2 separate regions of the Homo sapiens genome follow, and region 2 is linked to region 1. The links are contacts of gene promoters, found by promoter capture Hi-C in blood cells and fetal thymus (Javierre and others, 2016). All regions are on one chromosome and are shown on one strand. Each heading gives the region's core, a stretch centred on a gene start or on the middle of the fragment in contact. The rest is flanking DNA. Distances are from core to core; before and after follow the strand shown.

Region 1 (5,185 bases), core at 1,809-4,308:
TTCTTTCACAAAATAGATTGGGACTAAATAAGTGACTTCTGCGTTCAGATTTTGATGGTTCTCTGTTTGTTCCATACAGATAGTGTAAGCATGGGTTATTGGAGTAGTAAGAGATCTCATTTTCCCTTGTAGAATATGGGGATGGCCCAAACTCAAGAGATTGTTAGGGGCTCTTGTTGAAAATCAATTACAACAAAAGATGGTATGGAAATATGAATATAGTCCGAATATGCTGTCTTTTCCATGTCTTCTGGTCTACAAGGGAAAATGAGACCTATTACTTGTCCAAGAACCCATGGATGATCTTGTCTGTCTGAAACAAACAGAAAACCTTGGAAATCAGGACATGAAAGTCACCTAATTCTAACTTGTTTCATGACAGGACATTTCCTTTATTTCCATTTTTCATCACTTAATGTAAATACTAAAGTAAGTACAGTCATGACCTAGTGTTTGGCTCCTATTCCCGAAATGATTTTAAAAATAATAATCAGCATCTATGAAAACCTTCACAGGGTACTAATATGATAAGCACTGTTGGCAAATGTTTTCTCTAGTTATATCCTGAAGTGTGGTAGGAAAAAAAATCCAAGGAAGTATATTTCTTCCATGAGCATTTCCTGATAATTCTAGTCAAAGATGACGTTTCATGGCAGCCTCCGTGAAAGCAAACAGAAGAGCACAATTTTAAAAACACATCAAAGTGGAGTTCTGCTGGAATCAGGTTGGGAGTCAAGTCTTCTCTCTCTTTGGCCTTCTCTCCTGTAAGGCACCTCCAGCCATGTCCTTGCCCAATCCAGACCTGGGCAGAAACCTGGTGAATATTCCATTCATGTGGTCTACATCTAATACTTTATGGGCAAAGGCCATTCTCCTAGGCCAGTCAGCAGCATGCTAAGGAACCTCTGGAATTGAGTCAGATGGTCTTCCTTGCCTGTAGCAGTCCTTTGGTCCACAAGATAGAAAATAAAGAACTTAAGGCTGGGCGCAGTGGCTCACGCCTCTAATCCCAGCACTTTGGGAGGCCGAGGCGGGCGGATCACAAGGTCAGGAGATCGAGACCATCCTGATTAACACGGTGAAACCCCGTCTCTACTGAAAATACGAAAAATTAGCCGGGCGTAGTGGCGGGCGCCTGTAGTCCCAGCTACTTGGGAGGCTGAGGCAGGAGAATGGCGTGAACCCAGGAGGCGGAGCTTGCAGTGAGCCAAGCCATAGCACTCCAGCCTGGGCGACAGAGTGAGACTCTGCCTCAAAAAAAAAAGAAAAGAAAAGAAAGAACTTAAATATGGACAATGTTTGCATTACTGAGCAATTTTTCAGGGTCTGCAAAGGGCTATCCCTGCCCTAGTCTCCTGCCCTTCTGACAACCTTCCTATGGACCTTTTCCCATTGAGAAATGGAGCTGAGGAGACAGAATTGAAACTCAAACCAGGCCAGAGCTCACCTAAGAGGGGCCATTTCACTCCTTTTCAGCCACCAGCCCTTTACATTCCTTCTCCCTGGTGACCTCATCAGAACCTTCTCATGAGAGGTCAGCTATGATGCAAGACCTTATAGAGGCCAGATGGCATTGAAATAACACCTTGCAGCTCCCTTACATGTGAATAATTGCCCATACTGAGAGACTAAAACCCTTAGGACTTCTGGGACCTGAATGAGGCAATGGTCTGAAGTGGGCTTGCGCTGGAAGCAAGACGTAAGTGGTGAAGGTGAGTATCAGGGCAGCAGGTTGACCCCTTTCTTGTTATGAGCATGCATTCCTTCATTCTTACTAATACGGGTTAGGTGCCTACCCATGGCAAGAGCAGTTCTAGGCAGGGAGAGGCCCCTACCCACCCACAGCTGACGGTCTAGGGCTTGTTTACATTCTAGGTTTCAGCGGGAAAGCAAGAACACCCAACTCCCTGCTTTTGATTCTATGTTAGTAGCTCAGCGCGCCTGTGCGAGCACGTGCTGCAGCCAGGGTAGGGGCTCAGAAACTGGTTGACAAGATGAGCAGTGGGGTCCTAGGGGGTTGGGCGGGAAGGGCCCACAAGGCCATATTCCAGGCTGTTCGGCTGCGAGTGACCCCTGAGAGGTCGGGATCTCCGAGCTCGTCCGATGTCTCCATCCCAGCCAGGAGCTTGCGAAGGGGAAGGAGGGCGGAAGCAGAGTGGGACAGATGTGGTTCGTTCTGGGGCTTCCTGTCCACGAAGATGGATAATTCTAGCGACCCGCCTGGGATTTTGGAATCCTGGCGGACCCAAAAGACAGCAGAAGTCACCGCAGAGGATGCCACCCCGCACGGCAGCCCGCCCAGAGCGACGGTCTCACAGGTTCCGGCGCCGTCGAGCGCCCAAGCCTCCTGTTGGCCGCCAGCTGTGTCCGCGACGCGCTGGGTCGGGAGGAGGAGACCCGAGGCGCCGGTAAGTCCCCCGCTGCAGGTGGCCCGGAGGGCAGGGGTGAGGACGGGGACGTGTACTGAACTTTGGGAGGTTTGCGGGGCTGGAGTTTTGTTTCAGAGATAGCCAGATCGAGATCAGAACGTTTTCCAGAGAGCCCAGGTTTCCACTTGTGGCTGGGCGACCCGGTCCGGAATTCATCCTTTCTCGGCCCTCAGCTTCCTCCGGGCGGGGTTCCGATGGGGCAGCTAAGTTCCGCGCCTCCTGCCGGTGCCAGATACTGGCGTGTCGACCCGCGCTGCGGTTGGCTTCTTGCTCCACAGCGCTATGCGCGCGGCGGCTCCGAGGGCTCCTGGTCTCTCTCAGCCAACGGCCTTCTGGGGCCGCCGCCTCCCTCTAGAGCTGCTCGGGTCCCATTGCAGAGAGTCCCGCAGCGCCCGCCGGCAGCCACGGCACTTCGCAATAACCAACTTCCCCGCCGCCGGCGCGTCCCGCCAGCCTGCCCTCGGCCGCAGGCGACTGGACGGCGGTTACGGGGCGGTCCCAGCGCCACCACGACTGGCTGTCGGCTCCGCCAGTCATGGGCTGATGACGCCCCGGGGCTGGCTCCGCCCCTAGCGGCAGCCCCGCCTCCCCTCCAGAGCCTGGTCGGCTTAGCCCTGCTTTCCGCCTCACTCGTTGAGCAGGTCCGTGAATTGTCAGCGCGCTGTGGGCGACTGTGTGGCCGCGGCGGCCGCCAGGCTTGCCGCACTCCCCCTGAGGTGCCCGCCGGAACCAATGTGCCCTGGTCCACTGGGCCGTGAGCAGCCACCGACTGGGGGCAACTTGGCACTTAGAACCGCAGCAGGGACGTCGGTTTGCTATCGGGACTCGGCGAGGACGGTGAGTGGCCGCGCGCCGGGCTAGCGGCTCCTCTCGGCGCGGTTCGGCGGCGGCGAGAGGGGACGGGACGCGTCCTGGCGCTCGGCGGTCCGTTCGTCCGAGCGTGACCGCTGTGGGGAGGTCAGGGCTGGGCGGGATTTACTCCGTGCCAATATCCCCACTCCCGAACTTCTTCTTGTCAAAGCATCCCAACTCCGCCCGGGACGCGGTTCCAGTCCGCACCAACTTGGCGTAATTGACATGGGTAGGTGGGGCCGGGACGCGTCCCCTGCCCCTCTGCGGCAACGACATGGAGCGCTGGGGCGGCCTCCGCGCCCGCGGCGTGCGGACCGCGGTTCCTGAAAAATTACCCGCGCTGTGCGGTACGGTAAGACCCGGCGTCCGCGTCTGGATCTCAAGGCTGAGCGAGCGCTCATCGGGCTCAAGGTGGGTCTCAGCGCCAGAGAACTGGAGTACCAGCCGGGTTCTGTAGCGGGGGCTTCAGTGCTCTGCAGCTACTGAGAGGAATTGAGAGCACTGCTGGGCTTTGAACTTTCTAAAGTAATTGCTTTCTATTAGCACTTGAATCCATGACCCTCCTGAGGTGCTCGGACCTCCACATCCACCCGCAAGGGGTGTCCGAAGGACTTCGTTAGGACCAGGCGGGAGCTGCTGTCGGTTCTGGTGCCCAGTGCCTTGGAGAATCCTAGAGGCTGCGAAAGGGATTGCCAGCCTGGTCGGTTGGTGTTTGTTTGAGCACCTGCGTGTTTAAGTGATGAAGTTGAGTCAGGAATTGACAGCAGAGAACTCAAGGTTAAACCTGACACTCCGTTTGTGACTCGGTCTGGGTTAGATTGTTTTCCCCCCTTAATGGTAAGGGGGTAAAAGCAGCTTGTTTTTCTGAGACCAACTACATGCATGTAGTTTATATTATGTGCGGAATAAACAGAATTCAATACGATATTTTCTTACAATTCTTATTTGACATGAATAAGAGCTTTTGAAAATACTAGACAGAAACAGGTCCAGAATTTGGGGATGTTTAGACCTTTGAAAATACATGAAAATGTTGAGATATATAGTTCTGTATGTGTATATGAAGATGTAGATGCGCATATACACACATACATACGTGTATATGTGTGAGTGTGTGTATATATAAAATTAAAAGGTGAATGAGGTAAATATATGAAGGGGAAATTCAGCCTTGAACTTCCCTTGGGTCACAGAGATGGATCCTCTGAGCTGTGGGGTGTTAGTGAGTGTGTATGCGTAAGCATGTCTGCATCTGCCTGGTCTGTCTGGGTCAGAGTATGTCCATGAACTTTACGAGCGTTCAGTTCAATACCACTCAGTGCAGAATCCGCGTTCCTGTTTTACAGCCCAGCAGCCGCCAGCCGGCCCATCTGTTAAAACATAACATGTACACTTCAGTCCGACCACTGGGGTGGAGCCTGGGTAGGGGGCAACTCTTAGCAGAAACAACATGCTACAAACAAAGCCTGCCTCTCAAGTTCTATTTTCATTCAATATTTGGCCTGAACTTGAAGTTTTGGTGAGGGAGAAGGAAGTGTTTGTCTCTAGAAATGGCAAACTGCATTTTGTGAAATAATTATAGCCACGGCTTGGGGAGGGGGAGCTTGTAGGAGAGAAAAAAAAATCCCTCCAGAAATGTGGTGCTTGTCACATCACCATGCAACACGGGTTTACAGCTTTGCAGTATGGCATGTATATCAGAAACTGTTTGCTTTTGCTTGTTAAAATAATGCATTAAAACTGAATCATTTTGCACCAAAAAAAAAAAAAAACCTACCTTAATAGAAGTAAACAGAGCTTTATTGCAGAGGCTATAATTAAGACTGCCTTGGTATTTCTAATGAAACATACTTTTAGGAATTTATAACCTGGACATATATTCATAGTCAGTCTAATCACTAGTT
Region 2 (5,185 bases), core at 933-3,432, 2.4 Mb after region 1:
GCTATCTGGACTCTTGAGTCCCCACTCTCCTGTCTATGCCTATTTTTATGCACCTGCATAATTATTTTTTCTTAATAAAAATCACCATCATTTTATATTGTTGAATTGGAAACAAAACCGATTCCTTTCAGTCACCCTCTGGTTTAAGCACTGGTAACTGGCGCTAGTTTATATTGGCTGCTTGCCAAACGAAAGCAATTATGTGTAATAATAGAAAAATTAAGAGGTGAGTGTTGCTGTTTTACAGCAGGACATGGCAAAAACCATTTCCTTCTGTCAGCAGTATCTTGATTACACTCTCACACACAGTCTCACTCCTTTGTACCACATGCGCACGCGCACGAATGCACAACACACATTATTTCCTGTGGGTTTTAACTTGAGGTCACTGAAACCAGAAAGAGGAAGAATGCAAACCACAGCTTTTAAAAGCAAATGAGAATAGAACTTGCTGGCAAAAAAAAGAGAAAAAAATAATAAGTGAACTGGAAATAACAGTAATCAGTGGTAACTATGATCCTTTTTCATCCCCTGCCTCCTGCAGGTGTCCTAGTGGTCAATGTCACGTGGAGGAACAAAACGTACGTGGGAACCCTACTGGACTGCACCAAGCACGACTGGGCCCCTCCCAGGTATGAACAGGGCCTTTTATTTCTCTCCTTCCCCATCCTCTCTTTGCAGGGAAACTGTAGAGAGAGATTCATAATACATAAAAGTGTGCCTGTAATTGAAACCAGGCAAAGGAGAAATGAGCAATTTAGGATTGAACGCAGTAAAATGCAGATGCTAAATTTCTTTTCTATCAGAAGATCTCTGCTCCCCACCCCTTCTCTCCTGTCTTTGTTTTCATTTTTTCTCAAAGTGGGAATTTGAACTGGTTTGGAAGCTAGCTACTTGAGCTGTTTTTCTTTGGTTTTTCTGAGGAAGAATATAAGCCCTTGGTCGCCTGTTCTTTTGCAGGTGTTGGAAATTGTCAGTCTTTTCCTTGACTGGGCCCAGCCCTGAAGCTACTGGAGTGTTGACTCCTCTTTACTGCATTGTGTACTTTGTGATTTCACCTGGCTCTTTTGGGGATGCTCATTTTCACATCTGTTACTTGCTTCCATAGGTTTTGTGAGTCACCGACAAGTGACCTGGAGATGAGAGGGGGCCGGGGCAGAGGGAAGAGAGCGAGGTCTGCTGCTGCTGCCCCGGGCTCCGAGGCCAGCTTCACAGAGTCCAGAGGGCTGCAGAATAAGAACAGAGGGGGGGCCAATGGGAAAGGGAGGCGGGGCAGCCTCAATGCCAGCGGACGAAGGACACCCCCAAATTGTGCTGCTGAGGATATCAAAGCCAGCCCTTCCTCCACCAACAAAAGGAAAAACAAGCCTCCAATGGAGCTGGACCTGAACTCCAGCTCTGAGGACAATAAGCCTGGAAAGCGTGTCCGCACAAATTCCAGAAGCACTCCCACTACCCCTCAAGGGAAACCAGAGACTACTTTTTTGGACCAAGGCTGCTCTTCTCCAGTGTTAATCGACTGTCCCCACCCAAACTGCAACAAAAAGTACAAGCACATTAACGGCCTGAGGTACCACCAGGCTCATGCACACTTAGACCCAGAAAACAAGCTGGAGTTCGAGCCTGACAGTGAGGACAAGATCTCGGACTGTGAGGAAGGATTGAGTAATGTGGCACTTGAATGCAGTGAGCCAAGCACAAGTGTATCTGCTTATGACCAGTTGAAGGCACCGGCATCCCCTGGTGCTGGAAACCCACCTGGGACCCCAAAGGGAAAGAGAGAGCTGATGAGCAATGGCCCAGGTTCCATTATTGGTGCTAAAGCTGGGAAGAATTCTGGCAAAAAGAAGGGCCTTAACAATGAACTGAACAACCTTCCAGTAATCTCCAACATGACGGCTGCGTTAGACAGTTGCTCGGCAGCAGACGGCAGTTTGGCTGCTGAGATGCCTAAACTGGAAGCAGAAGGATTAATTGACAAGAAAAATTTAGGAGATAAAGAAAAGGGCAAAAAAGCTACCAACTGCAAAACGGACAAAAACCTCTCTAAACTGAAAAGTGCCCGGCCCATTGCCCCTGCCCCAGCCCCCACTCCCCCGCAGCTAATCGCTATACCCACTGCAACCTTTACAACGACCACCACTGGGACAATACCCGGACTGCCCTCCCTCACAACAACTGTTGTTCAGGCTACACCAAAGAGTCCTCCGTTAAAACCCATTCAACCAAAGCCCACAATTATGGGAGAGCCCATCACCGTGAACCCAGCTCTGGTGTCACTCAAAGACAAAAAGAAAAAGGAGAAGCGAAAGCTAAAGGACAAAGAAGGGAAAGAGACGGGAAGCCCAAAAATGGATGCCAAGCTGGGGAAACTAGAGGACTCCAAGGGGGCCAGCAAAGATTTACCTGGGCATTTTTTAAAGGATCATCTCAACAAGAATGAAGGGCTGGCAAATGGACTGTCGGAGTCTCAGGAGAGCCGCATGGCCAGTATCAAAGCTGAGGCCGATAAGGTTTACACTTTCACAGACAACGCTCCCAGCCCTTCCATAGGGAGCGCCTCGAGGCTGGAATGCAGCACTTTGGTGAACGGGCAGGCACCAATGGCACCTCTGCATGTGTTGACCCAGAATGGGGCAGAGAGTTCAGCTGCAAAGACAAGCAGCCCGGCCTATTCAGACATATCTGATGCTGCTGACGATGGTGGTTCTGACAGCAGGTCGGAGGGTATGAGATCAAAGGCCAGTTCCCCATCAGATATTATTTCTAGTAAGGACAGTGTTGTAAAAGGGCATTCTTCAACTACAGCACAATCATCTCAACTGAAAGAGTCCCATTCTCCCTATTACCACAGCTATGATCCTTATTATTCTCCAAGTTACATGCACCCTGGGCAGGTCGGTGCCCCTGCAGCTGGAAATAGTGGGAGCACGCAGGGAATGAAGATCAAGAAGGAGTCTGAGGAAGATGCTGAAAAGAAAGACAAGGCAGAGCAGTTAGATTCTAAGAAAGTGGACCACAATTCTGCATCCTTACAGCCTCAGCACCAGTCGGTGATCACACAAAGACATCCTGCCCTGGCTCAGTCACTTTATTATGGCCAGTATGCATATGGGCTCTATATGGACCAGAAGTCTCTGATGGCCACCAGCCCTGCCTATAGACAGCAGTATGAGAAGTACTATGAGGACCAGAGGCTGGCAGAGCAGAAAATGGCCCAGACTGGGAGAGGAGACTGTGAAAGGAAAAGTGAGCTCCCCTTGAAAGAGCTGGGCAAGGAGGAAACTAAACAGAAAAATATGCCATCGGCCACAATCTCAAAAGCTCCCTCTACTCCGGAGCCTAACAAAAACCATTCTAAACTAGGGCCATCAGTGCCTAATAAAACTGAGGAGACAGGTAAATCGCAGCTTCTCTCCAATCACCAGCAGCAGCTTCAGGCCGACAGCTTCAAAGCTAAGCAGATGGAAAACCACCAGCTTATTAAGGAGGCTGTAGAAATGAAGTCTGTCATGGACTCTATGAAGCAGACAGGTGTAGACCCAACCTCGAGATTTAAACAAGTAAGATTGTGGAGCGTGGCCCCAACAGGGAGAGAGCAGTCTGAGACTTGTATTATACATGTCTGGGCTTGATCTGGTTAGACTTCTGACACAGGAAAGAAACCCATATTAGTTTTTTCCTCTGCTCTTGAAAAATATCTTAAGATTCTCAGGAGTTACTATGTAGCTCTAAAATGTACATTATCAGTATTTTCTTGTCATGGTGTATAGTAAAAGGAACTGTGGATGGGTGCTTTGCAGATTTGTGTTTCATGCCACTAACTTGCTCTGTGACTCTGATGAGGTCCATTAATTTCTTTTTTTAAATTTTTTAAATTTTTTGAGACGGAATCTCTCTCTGTCACCCAGGCTGGAGTGCAGTGGTGCAATCTTGGCTCTCTGCAACCTCCGCCTCCGTTCAAGCGATTCTCCTGCGTCAGCCTCCTGAGTAGCTGGGACTACAGGCACGTGCCACCATGCCCGGCTAATTTTTTGTATTTTTAGTAGAGATGGGGTTTCACCGTGTTAGCGAGATGGTCTCGATCTCCTGACCTCATGATCCGCCCACCCTGGCCTCCCAAAGTGCTGGGATTACAGGCGTGAGCCACCGCGCCTGGCCAGGATCCCTTAATTTCTTAGTCCAAGGCGAGGGCTTTCCACAATGGGGCTGCTGAATTCTCTTCTAACTCTGAGATTCTGAGTCTTATCTCTGAAATATTTATTTTCCATTTTCAAATTTCTACTAGCATCTTCTTTGAAGATAATAAAAACTGGGTCCCTGAATTCACATTTCCCATTAATCTTTTTAATAGAATTTGGGGCCCAAATTTCTTTCACATGGGGTCAGAGATGCCTAGATTTCAGTCTTACTCCCTATATTAAGTACCCCAAAACTCAGAGCTCAGTGCTGAATGTTTGTGAGGAGGGTGAGGAGGTTTGGGTGGCAGGCCTCAACAGCTGTCCCAGAGCCCCATGGGTCAGTCAGCTTGAGAACACCTGAAAATTGGTCACCACGAAACCACAAATGTACTAGCACCTTCTGTCATGGTTCAGACATCCTGACCCACTGCAACCCCGTGAGCATTAATCCTGGTTATTTCCCAGCACTGCACATCCCCACTCCCACCCTCACCCCCATGCTTAGATAATCCCTGGTGCATTAGAGCAAGAACCACCAGCCCCCACCACCGCCACCCACACACACACATTTACTTAGGCACAACTTTGCATGTTCTCTGAGAACCTGAATCCCCAGTGGGTTTATATCATGAATGGGATGGGGATCACAAAGGCCATTTAGGATTCTCAGTTTCCCCACTTACAGAGGCATAAATCAGGCTGTCAATTCACAGGGCTGCAGAAGATTTATATAATTTTGGGGGTTTATAGATAGATGGCTTTGTTTTCCAATAGAGAAGCCATAACGTGTGCTATTAATTTGAAATTTTGTTTTGATTAAGATGTTAACACGTAATGAGAAGTGAGCCAATATATTAAGCCTCAGCTGCAGTAGATGAGGAAAATGTATTAGGAAACCAAGAGTTTTTCCTCCTAAGTGATGTTAATAGCTATAGCAATTACTTAAATTTACTATTATTAGCTTGAGTTGGAGTTTTTAACATTCTTTTCACCTGTGTGAGATA

What was found. Contacts are between HindIII fragments. The CHiCAGO score rates a contact against its expected background, and 5 or more counts as called.
Region 2: a contact is called between a fragment that was not itself captured here and the fragment with the promoter of MARCHF3 in region 1, in 1 of 17 cell types (neutrophils). The highest score is 5.1, in neutrophils.

What each region holds. Positions count from the first base shown.
Region 1 is chr5:127,028,431-127,033,615 of GRCh38, reverse strand. It overlaps MARCHF3 (membrane associated ring-CH-type finger 3), which reads left to right and starts at 3,058. Exons shown (of 5, transcript NM_178450.5): 1 at 3,058-3,266. It overlaps LOC105379163 (a long non-coding RNA gene), which reads right to left and starts at 2,273. Exons shown (of 2, transcript XR_007058920.1): 1 at 1-2,273. RefSeq lists an enhancer at 2,176-2,720 and a silencer at 2,717-3,096. The HindIII fragment of the contact is 7,560 bases long and covers 1-5,185 here.
Region 2 is chr5:124,645,057-124,650,241 of GRCh38, reverse strand. It overlaps ZNF608 (zinc finger protein 608), which reads left to right. Exons shown (of 10, transcript NM_020747.3): 4 at 545-632; 5 at 1,109-3,563. Among named protein-coding and RNA genes, the nearest start is that of ZNF608, 99 kb to the left of the region's middle. RefSeq lists an enhancer at 1,221-1,729. The HindIII fragment of the contact is 7,804 bases long and covers 1-5,185 here.